2 separate regions of the Homo sapiens genome follow, and region 1 is linked to region 2. Evidence: promoter capture Hi-C in 16 types of primary human blood cells and fetal thymus (Javierre and others, 2016). All regions are on one chromosome and are shown on one strand. Each heading gives the region's core, a stretch centred on a gene start or on the middle of the fragment in contact. The rest is flanking DNA. Distances are from core to core; before and after follow the strand shown.

Evidence for each region. Contacts are between HindIII fragments. The CHiCAGO score rates a contact against its expected background, and 5 or more counts as called.
Region 1: a contact is called between a fragment that was not itself captured here and the fragment with the promoter of NFX1 in region 2, in 1 of 17 cell types (monocytes). The highest score is 5.0, in monocytes.

What each region holds. Positions count from the first base shown.
Region 1 is chr9:36,479,374-36,484,313 of GRCh38, reverse strand. It overlaps a transcript of RNF38 not described here. Among named protein-coding and RNA genes, the nearest start is that of RNF38, 82 kb to the right of the region's middle. RefSeq lists a silencer at 1,567-1,746. The HindIII fragment of the contact is 6,165 bases long and covers 1-4,940 here.
Region 2 is chr9:33,289,030-33,294,073 of GRCh38, reverse strand. It overlaps NFX1 (nuclear transcription factor, X-box binding 1), which reads right to left and starts at 3,558. Exons shown (of 24, transcript NM_002504.6): 1 at 3,477-3,558. The coding sequence starts at 3,501. It also overlaps the pseudogene LOC100862682. RefSeq lists enhancers at 3,283-3,332, 2,314-3,513, 3,483-3,532, 3,543-3,962, 4,668-5,044. The HindIII fragment of the contact is 6,050 bases long and covers 1,061-5,044 here.

The DNA of each region.
Region 1 (4,940 bases), core at 708-3,207, 3.2 Mb before region 2:
GTTTTGCAGTGGATGACTTTTATTTTGGAACTGCTGATAGTTGCGGTAGATTTCTCATTATTTCTAAACTTTCTATTGGACCTGTGTCAGCAGTTTGAGCTTTGTTGAAATAGATGTGCTCCAGGACATTCTGATATATCAGGTGTAGGGAGGGACCCAGACATCTGATTCTGAGAAAACTCCCCAGTAGATTGGGATGCCCACTAAAGTTTGAGAACCACTATCTTGGGTTTGCCCCAGCCTAGTCCTCATCTTTTCCTTAGGCTGCCCCTCTGTTCCCACTCCTGGATGACTGGGATGGAATTTTGACCCACGTGATACTTTACCTCTTTTGTGGAGCATAAAAGAATGATAGGGTTGGATGCCATACCCCTCTTAATCTAGGTTGTCCATTCCTCTGATTTTCATGGAGTTAGCTAAGGGGCCCACTACCTACCAGGGTTGTTTATCAGGTTTTACAGATTTTAACACATGTGTCAACTGTATGTGGTTTCAAAGTAAGGGCAAAAAGGGTCTAGCAGAGAAGGAAAATTTGGAGAAAGTAAAACCCCCAAAGGTAAACATGTCATTATGTCTTAAGAGAAAGATGATCCATCCCTCTGCAGATGCTAGTGATTGTTTTAGCTTGTGACCAACATTTGAGGTTCAGCCGTCTGAACCTATGGTCAGAGATTAAGGTCTTTAGGAGACAACTGATTATCCCTCAAGATGGAAGAGTGTCCTTTCTCCAAAATTTGCTAGTTTTCCTTCTCTACTAGACCTTTCTTCCTTAGTCCTGATGTGTTTATGAATGAATTTATGTTAACAAATCTGAGGCTTTCTGATAGTGAAATTTGTGAAGTGCCTGTTTGTCTTTGTTAAGGTTCCTCTATCTGGAAACCCACTTTGGAGGTGCAGCATTGCCCAGGTACGCTTTTCTTTTTTTTTGAGACAGAGTTTCGCTCTTGTTGCCCAGGCTGGAGTGCAGTGGCGCAATCTCGGCTCACTGCAGCCTCCACCTCCCAGGTTCAAGCGATTCTCCTGCCTCAGCCTCTCGAGTAGCTGGGATTACAGGTGCCTGCCACCATGCCCGGATAATTTTCATATTTTTAGTAGAGACGGGGTTTCACCATGTTGGCCAGGCTGGTCTCAAACTCCTGACCTCTGTGATCAGCCTGCCTCGGCCTTCCAAAGTGTTGGGATTACACGCGTGAACAGCCGTGCCTGGCCGGTACACTTCTTAACGGTGCTGCTGTGTAGGACCATAGAGATTGCACCCAGCAAAAGGATACCTGTTTCAGGTGGCAAGTGAGGGTGGAAATCTATTCTGTACTCCACTTACCAAGATGAGTACCTGGTGTGGAACTGTGTGCACTCAGAGAAGGGGCACCTTTTCTAATCCACGCAAAGGTGATCTGTGATCTAGCACTGCTCTGCAGCTTTGGAACTGTCAGTCCAGCTGTAACTAACAGTTTCATCCATATGCATTGTGGGCTTTACCATGAGGTCTGGGTTAGTGCTTGCCCTAGGGGCTTCAAGAGTTCTCCATGTGAACTTTTCATGGGAAGGGGCTTTTCATCACCATGCTCAGCTGAACCAAAGAGCACAGCTTAAAATAGTAAACTTTGTTATGAGGCTGGAGAAATATGTACAGAATAAGCTATTTAGAAAATACCACTGTCAGCCTGGCGCAGTGGCTCACGCTTATAATCCCAGCACTTTGGGAGGCCGAGGTGGGTGGATCACCTGAGGTCAGGAGTTCAAGACCAGCCTGGCCAACATGGTGAAACCCCGTCTCTACTAACAATAGAAAAATTAGCTGGGCATGGTGGCGCATGCCTGTAATCCCAGCTACTTTGGAGGCTGAGGCAGGAGAATCGCTTGAACCCGGGAGGTGGAGGTTGCAGTGAGCTGAGATCACGCCACTGCACTCCAGCCTGGGCAACAGAGTGAGACTCTGTCTCAAAAAAAAAAAAAAAAAGGTCTGGGCACAGTGGCTCACACCTGTAATCCCAGCACTTTGGGAGGCCGAGGTGGGCGGATCACCTGAGGTCAGGAGTTCGAGACCAGCCTGGCCAACGTGGAGAAAGCCTGTTTCTACTAAAAATACAAAATTAGCCAGGCGTGGTGGCACATGCCTATAATCCCAGCTACTTGGGAGGCTGAGGCAGGAGAATCGCTTGAACCCAGGAGGCAGAGGTTGCTGTAAGCTGAGATTGCACCATTGCACTCCAGCCTGGGCAACAAGAGCGAAACTTCGTCTCAAAAAAAAAAAAAAAAAAAAAAGACAAAAGTATCTGGTAAATGGAGGAGAGAAAGTATAGTACCTATGTGCCACATTTGCGCTTGTCTTCTTACAGTGCTCACTTGAAGGGGTAAATGCAGTTATTTTTCTCTTCCTATTTCCCCCTGCACTAGCATTCCTGAAGACCTGAGGCTTTTTAGCTAATTTTGAAAATATTTACCCATTTGTATTTTCCATTAAGTGGTTGTTTACGCTTCCTGCTGTTTCATTTTTTCTTGGAGAGAGAGGAGGGGGGAGTACAAACCAAGGACAAGACCGGACTTCCTACTGCTTTTGGAAATAATGGCAGAGTTTTTCAGGACAGTTGTCGTGGATGAATGCTGTTCTGGGGGCTCAAGGGAAAGATACATTTGAAGTGGTTTCTGTTGTCTTTTTTATTATTATTTTTAAACATGATTGAGGGTGGTGGGATAGGAAGTTTCAATTTGCTTATGCTGCTGTCTTGGAGTAATTTTTTGAAAGAAATTATATGTTAAAAAACTAAAGATGTTTAACAAAAGTGGTCTTTTGCCCACAGAAGGGAAATAAACAATTCTTACCTGCAGGCCTTACCCAGACTGGTTTCAGTTTTTTTCCTGTTCTACTTAAATGGATATTAGCGCTGTTCTTGGGACTGCTGAGAACAGTTAACTGCAGTGATGTTGGACAGGTGGAAGAGTAGAATGATGGGAGTATATTGGGGTTTATCAATAGTTACGCTATCAAAAGCTATCACTAGCTGGTGTGGTGGCTCATGCCTGTAATCCCAGCACTTTGGGAGGTCGAGGCGGGTGGATCACCTGAGCTCAGGAGTTTGAGACCAGCCTGACCAACATGGTGAAACCCTGCCTCTACTAAAAATACAAAAATTAGCTGGGCGTGGTGGCACGCACGTGTAATCTCAGCTACTTGAGAGGCTGAAGCAGGAGAATCGCTTGAACCCAGGAGGCGGAGGTTGCAATGAGCCGAGATTGCACCATTGCACTCCAGCCTGGGTGACAGAGCAAGACTCTGTCTCAAAAAAAAAAAAAAAAGAAAGAGAAGAAAAAAAGCTATCACTGCATTTTCTGCTTTTGTGGTAAAATATGTATAGAAATAAGAGAGTGAGATATTGTGAGTTTTGGTGTATATACTGATCCTTTGACTTTGTTGAGAAATGTAGGGAAGTAGTAGTAAGAGGACCAAATATATACATGGAAGGGGCCGGGCGTGGCGGCTCACCCCTGTAATCCCAGCACTTTGGGAGGCCAAGGCGGGTGGATAACTTGAGCTCGAGTTTGAGACCAGCCTGGGCAACATGGTGAAACCCTGTCTTTACTAAAAATACAAAAATTAGCTGGGTGTGGTGGCACTTGCCTGTAATTTCAGCTGCTTGAGAGGCTGAGGCACGAGAATCGCTTGAGCCTGGGAGGCGGAGATTGCAGTGAGTTGAGATGGTGCCACTGCCCTCCAGCCTGGGGAACAGAGTGAGACCCTGTCTCAAAAAAAAAAAAAAAAAAAAAGAAAAAGAAAAAAACTGTATACATAGAATAGCAAGCAGTTAGGTAGTAGGACAATTTGTAGTGCTTTTGGGATGTTCTTGGAGTTGAAAAGTTGGCTGTCCATTCTGCTTCTGCACCTTGGATTTTAGTGGCTGCAGATGCTGCATGCTGACCTTCTGTTGAAATTTGTTTTATTGTCAGAGAACTAAAAAGTGAGCAGTTTCTCAGACTAAACAGAAGTAGAGTAGGCAGAAAGTAAAACAGGTATTCATTTAATAATCACATTTACAGGGCCAGTCGCAGTGGCTCACGTCTGTAATCTCAGCACTTTGGGAGGCTGAGGTAGGTGGATCACTTGAGCTCAAGAGTTTGAGACCAGCCTGAGCAACATGGTGAAACTCTGTCTCTACTAAAAATACAAAACTTAGCTGGGTGTGGTGGTGTGAACCTGTAGGCCCAGCTACTCGGGAGGCTGAGACAGGAGAATCACTTGAACCTGGGAGGTGTAGCTTGCAGTAAGCCGAAATCACGCCACTGCACTCCAGCCTGGGCGACAGAGTGAGACTCCATCTCAAAAAAATAAAAAAATAAAAATTCACATTTACAGATAGAGAAAAGTTGGAACTCATACTTAAAGAGACAGGGTCTTGCTATGTTGCCCATGGTGGTCTTGAACTCCTGAGCTCAAGTAATCCTCCTGCCTTGACTTCCCTAAGTGCTAGGATTACTACAGGAATGAGCCACTATGCCCGGCTGGGACTCATAATTAATAAAAAGTATTTTTCATTTGGCTTTTGTGCTATCTTATTAAAACTTTTTTTTTTATAGATTTGTCTTCCTATGTAGATTTTTATTGCCACCTCAATACATCTTTGAGCATCTACTGAGTGCCAGTAATGCCAATACCAACCACTGGTTAATTAGGATGATAGCTTTTGTTGTCAAAACTTCCTCACTTAAGGTCTTGAGAATCGCATAGAGGGGTGCAATTCAAGACAGTTATTGCTTGCTTTTCTCCCAAATTTCTTGCTTCCTTCTGCTCCCTGGTCTTCTGGGCATGGTGATTGTGCCCATCTGCCAAGATAAGCCCTGCTTCTCTCCACCCCCACATGGGAGGAGATGCAGAAGCTCAACAGAACCCTGGCTGGTCATTACAAGTAAATTCCCACAAACGATATTGAACTAGAACTGAGGGC
Region 2 (5,044 bases), core at 2,309-4,808:
TGTGGTCTTCTTTCAAAACAGTAAAGTAGCATTGTGTAATATCAAGTAAACAGGCTTTGGACTAAGCCAAAATGGGTTAAAGTCCACCTGTCCAACTTATTGTATGAACTTAGGGATATCACGTGCCTGCTTTTAGCCTTAGTTTCCTTGTCTATGGTAAAGGATGACAATACTTATTTCAACGGTTACTGAGAAATTTAAATATGATTTCATAGATAGTACTTAATAAGTGTATTAGTTTTCATCTCTTTCCCCTAGGAATATATTTTGGGTTTTCCATACATAACCTCTATAATCTGGTCTACAATCCCAAAGTGGAAAAAATTAAGCATACTCCCCTTCAACCCACTCATGTTCCCCCAGAAGATGCTTCTTGGTACAGTCAATTCAGTCCCTGAAGCACAAAGACAAAATGGTTTGCCTAAGGACATAAAATTAGTAGCAAAGTCAGAACTATGTGTAGCATACAGAATATACTATAAATTGGTAAGACCTGGAAGACATGGGTTTAAGTCACTTATCACTTATTTTAACTTCAGGAAAGTTACTTAGCCCCATTTTCCTTACATGTAATGAAGATAGTAACAACCTCTATATCAAAGAGTTGCAGTGAAGAGTAAAGCAAGTTAATAACACACACAAAATGGTTAAAATGGTACTCTATCATTGCTGTTAGGACTACAGAGGATCTGAAACACACAGGCTTGAGCATTGATGGGTGCAGTATAGAGCCTGAGGGTTTCAGGTTTAATAATAAGGCCTAACATTTATTAGGTATTATGTGCCAGGCACTATCCTAAGCACTTTACATGTATTAACTCATTTAATCCTTACATTCCTGATGAGAAAACTGAAGCACAGAGAGTAGGAACTTGCCCAAGGCCACAGAGGAATTCCAAGGAAGACTCGGGGTTCCAACTCAGTTTGTGTATTAGAGACTGCGCTCTTACACTAACAGAGCTTGGGCAGTGGGTACCATAGAAACATACAGTGAAAAATGGAATGATCATAAAGGTCATAGAGTAACCTCTCACCCAATTCAGGATTTGTCCTGAAAGCTTTCACATAGGCAGAATTCTAGGGGATGGGATGGAGGGCCTCACAAAATCACAAAAGGATTAGACAAATGCAGAGGGTGGCAGAGGTATTCTGGAAACATAAGATAATTTAAAGGTTGGAATGGTTAAATTGGACCAGTGGGTATTGTGTAGTTCTCGCTTGCTTGAAAAAGCGAGACTGGAAAGAGGGGCAGAAATAAGATCAGTAAAGATGTCTAGAGAAGCCTAGTAAAGGATAGGAAAAGAGTGTTTCTCGTTAAGCAGTAATGAGTTGATGCAACTAGAGAATCCAGAGAAGGCTGCATGTACTCATATACAGGATATGTTCAACTAGACATGAGGCAGCAGGCAAAGCCCTCAGGAAAAAAACCCATAAGAGACATGAGGAAGGGAAACAGGACACATTGATCAGGAAACTGGCCATGGCAAAGATCAGAGGCACCATTTTTATTTCACTATTTCAAGTAGCTGGAAGTTAGTAAACAGGATGTCTAGTCACCACGGCTAGAATACAAGTGGTACCCTAAATCCAAGATAACACAGCAGCACAGTAGGTGTCCAACAGGTGGGAAAGGCAGACTAAAGGGAAATCCAACTGGCAGATTACAAAGTCCAGAGACAAGGCTGGCATTGCAGAGTCTGCTCACCGGCAGAAAAGTATCCTCTGCACTGGGCTTCTGTTTAAAGACTTTGATGATGAGGGTGTGGGCTAAAGATGATGCTAAAATACGAACATGGAATGGGAACTAAAGCAAAATCAAACTAAAGCACATGAAAAGGAGTAAGGAGGTCTTTGGACTAGAAGATTTTGCCTCATTAGATACTTTCTGGGTTGGAGGTAATAACTTGGGCACAACACCAAAGTTCAACACGAAGACTCACAACTAGGCCCCACCGAATTCTTCTTCAAACACTGAAGGGTACAGAAATGAGTCAGAAACGAGCCTGTGGATGAGACGATCAATAGATCCAGTTTAGAGAATCTGGTGAAGGACTAGGTGAGGAGAATAACAAAATACCCAGCCCAAAAAGTTTTCCAACCCCAAGGAAGACTTAATATCCACATCAAGACTAGGGTACACCAATGCAGTGTGTTTTCCAACTTTTTTTTTTGAGACGAAGTCACACTCTGTCGCCCAGGCTGGAGTGCAGTGGCACGATCTTGGCTCACTGCAACTTCCGCCTCCAGGGTTCAAGCAATTCTCTTGCCTCAGCCTCCGGAGTAGCTGGGACTACAGGCGCGTGCCACCATGCCCAGCTAATTTTTTGTATTTTTAGTAGAGACGGGGTTTCACCGTGTTAGCCAGGATGGTCTCGATCTCCTGACCTCGTGATCCGTCCACCTCGGCCTCCCAAAGTGCTAGGATTACAGGCGTGAGCCACCACGCCCGGCCCTAACTTTTTAAACTAAGAACCATAGTAATAAATACATTTTACCTGCCACCCAGTATACAAATACATATATGGTCTTCTTGGTGCCCCAACGGCTGGTCAGGGACAGAGCTGAGATTCAAACCAATGGTTTCCAAACTCCATTCTGCAAACTGCTGCCCTGTTTTCCAGAGTGGGCCATAAAATCAAATGAAGGCAGTGGGCTGTGACATATTTTTAAACGAAACAGAAAACAGAATATATTGCTGATTGTAAAACAAACCAACCAACCTCACTGCTTCCAGAAACTTCTGGTTCGCTTTTATATTTATGTAAGTGTACAATATTTAAGGTCGCGATGCAAAATGTTTCTTTTGGTTGCTGTCCAACACATTTGGAAAACACTGATCTATGGAACACCCTGAGGAAATGGATGTTATATCAACGAACAAATGAGGCTGTCTCTACACACTGAGGCAACTCCAGGAGGGGGAGTGAGTGAACAATTACAGAATAGGTACAGTACAGGGCGGGAGCCATCACAGGAATTAACTTATCTACTCCCAACTGACAGATGAGGAGACTGAGACTGAGTCACACGGGGTTCGCAGCAGGCTGAGACTCTAAACTACTGGAATTCGGCTCGCGCCCACGCCACCACTCCAGGCGGTATGAGCACACCACACCCTACACGTCAAGAGCCCGCCACCGTCACTGGCTGTGACCTGGCCGACGCCCGCCTGTCGAAGGTCAGTGCGCCGCTGCCCCAGAAACAGCCTGTGGGAAGGCAGGGCACCCACATCGACTCGCAGCGCCGGGACAAGTCCTCTCTCCTCCGAAACCCAGCTACTGGGCTTCACCATCTAGTCCAAGAAGACACAGATCTTCGTACGCACGATGCGCGGGGCTTGGCCCTTCCGAGCCACTATCCTACGCCCTAGCATGTGCTACTCTCGCGATATGAGTGGCTGAGGCCCTAGAACTTCGTCACTGACCCAATTTCCGCTCCCTGAAAGGGGCCCAGTCCCGCTCGGGCCGGGACAATACCTGAGACAGGAGGCGCCTCCGCCATCCCGTGCCGCAGAACCTAGATCGAGCTGTACAGCCAAGTCAGCACTGTCACCAGGTCACGTGCCCCGGACTTCCGGCGCCGCGAGAATATTCGCATCTGCGCGCCGTGTAGACGGCCACAGAGGTTGCGCAGCCCGAATCTGTGTGGCGCGTTCGTGACGTCAGATAGACGCGCCAGGTGTCGGGCGGGAGGAGGAGACTAGTAGCTGGATGGAAATAGCAACAATCGCAGGAGGGAGGGCGGCGACTTGCGTAATCATTGTGGTTTTCCTTTTTTTATTTTTTGATATAGGGTCTTGCTGCCTTACCCAGGCTTGAGTGCAGTGGTCTGATCATGGCTCACTATAGCTTCAGTCTCTAATCCTCCCGCCTCAGCCTTCCGGTAGCTGGAACTACAGGCGGAGCCACCATGCGCAGCTATTTTTAGTAGAGACGGGTTTCGCCATGTTGCCCAGGCTAGTCTCTCCAACTCCTGGCCTCAAGCGATCCTGCCGCTTTGGCCTCCTAAAGTGCTTGGCTTACAGGCGAGCCACCACGCCTGGCTCCAGACTTTTTTTTTTTTTTTTTTTTTTACAAAGGCGTTTATTCTCATCAGTATCACCGATATTCTCATGGTTCACATTTGCCAACGCCGCTCCTCTCCTTACAGTAGTTAAATGTGCAATCTCACTTGGGGGCCCAGGGAGGGGTGGGGGCTCGGCCCAGGGTGGGGAGGGCGTTGGCACTTCACGTGGACAGGGTGGGCAGCCTGTCCTGCGTGAAAGAGGTGTGGGTGAGTGGGCGGCCAGGGAAGGGGAGTTGGCAGGGGAGGGCCCCGCAGTCTTTTTTTCTTTGGTGGTTGGTGATTCTCCATTCAGATTCCTTCCTGGCTTCCCAGGGTAGGGGAACCATGCAGCTCAGGGCAGGGCAGGGGAGGAAGAGAAGGAAAAAGCAGCAGGCCGCCCGGGGGGAAAGGTGGAGGGTGAACGGCAGGGCAAGGGGGAACGGGTGGCTCCTGAGGTAAGGCACAACCCTGTCTTTGGCTTTCCTGGTGAGGAGTTTCCTCCCCTGCACCCCCTGCCCGACGCTTCTCCCCACCCCCCCACCCCCCAGACCCACACACAGTCCCAGGAGCCAGGGGGCACCACCTCCTGGGGTCCCTGAAACAAGTGGGCTCTGCCACCCAAGCCAGTGCCGCAGGGGCTCGAGGAGGGACACCCGAGGAAAAGGCAGAGAGGGGCAGGCAGGGGCCTACCCAGGACAAGGGGGTGGGGGTGAGAAGACCCTAGGCCCAGGAGCTGGGCCCCCCGCCCCAACTAAGTCCTGGAAGTGGGGGAGCACCTGCTTCCTTTCGGGGGTCTGGCTGGAGCCCCGGTCTGCCCCTTGGCCTCCGTCAGGCCCAGCCACTTGCCAAGTGACCAGGGCATTGTGCTTTGGGGTAAACGCTGGGGTGGGGTGGCAGGCCAGGAGGCAGGGGGAGAGGAGGGATGACTAAGGTGCTTGTGCTTTAGCTGGGGGTGTCGATATCCCCCACTCGGGCCGGCTGGGGGCTAAGGTGCCAGGCC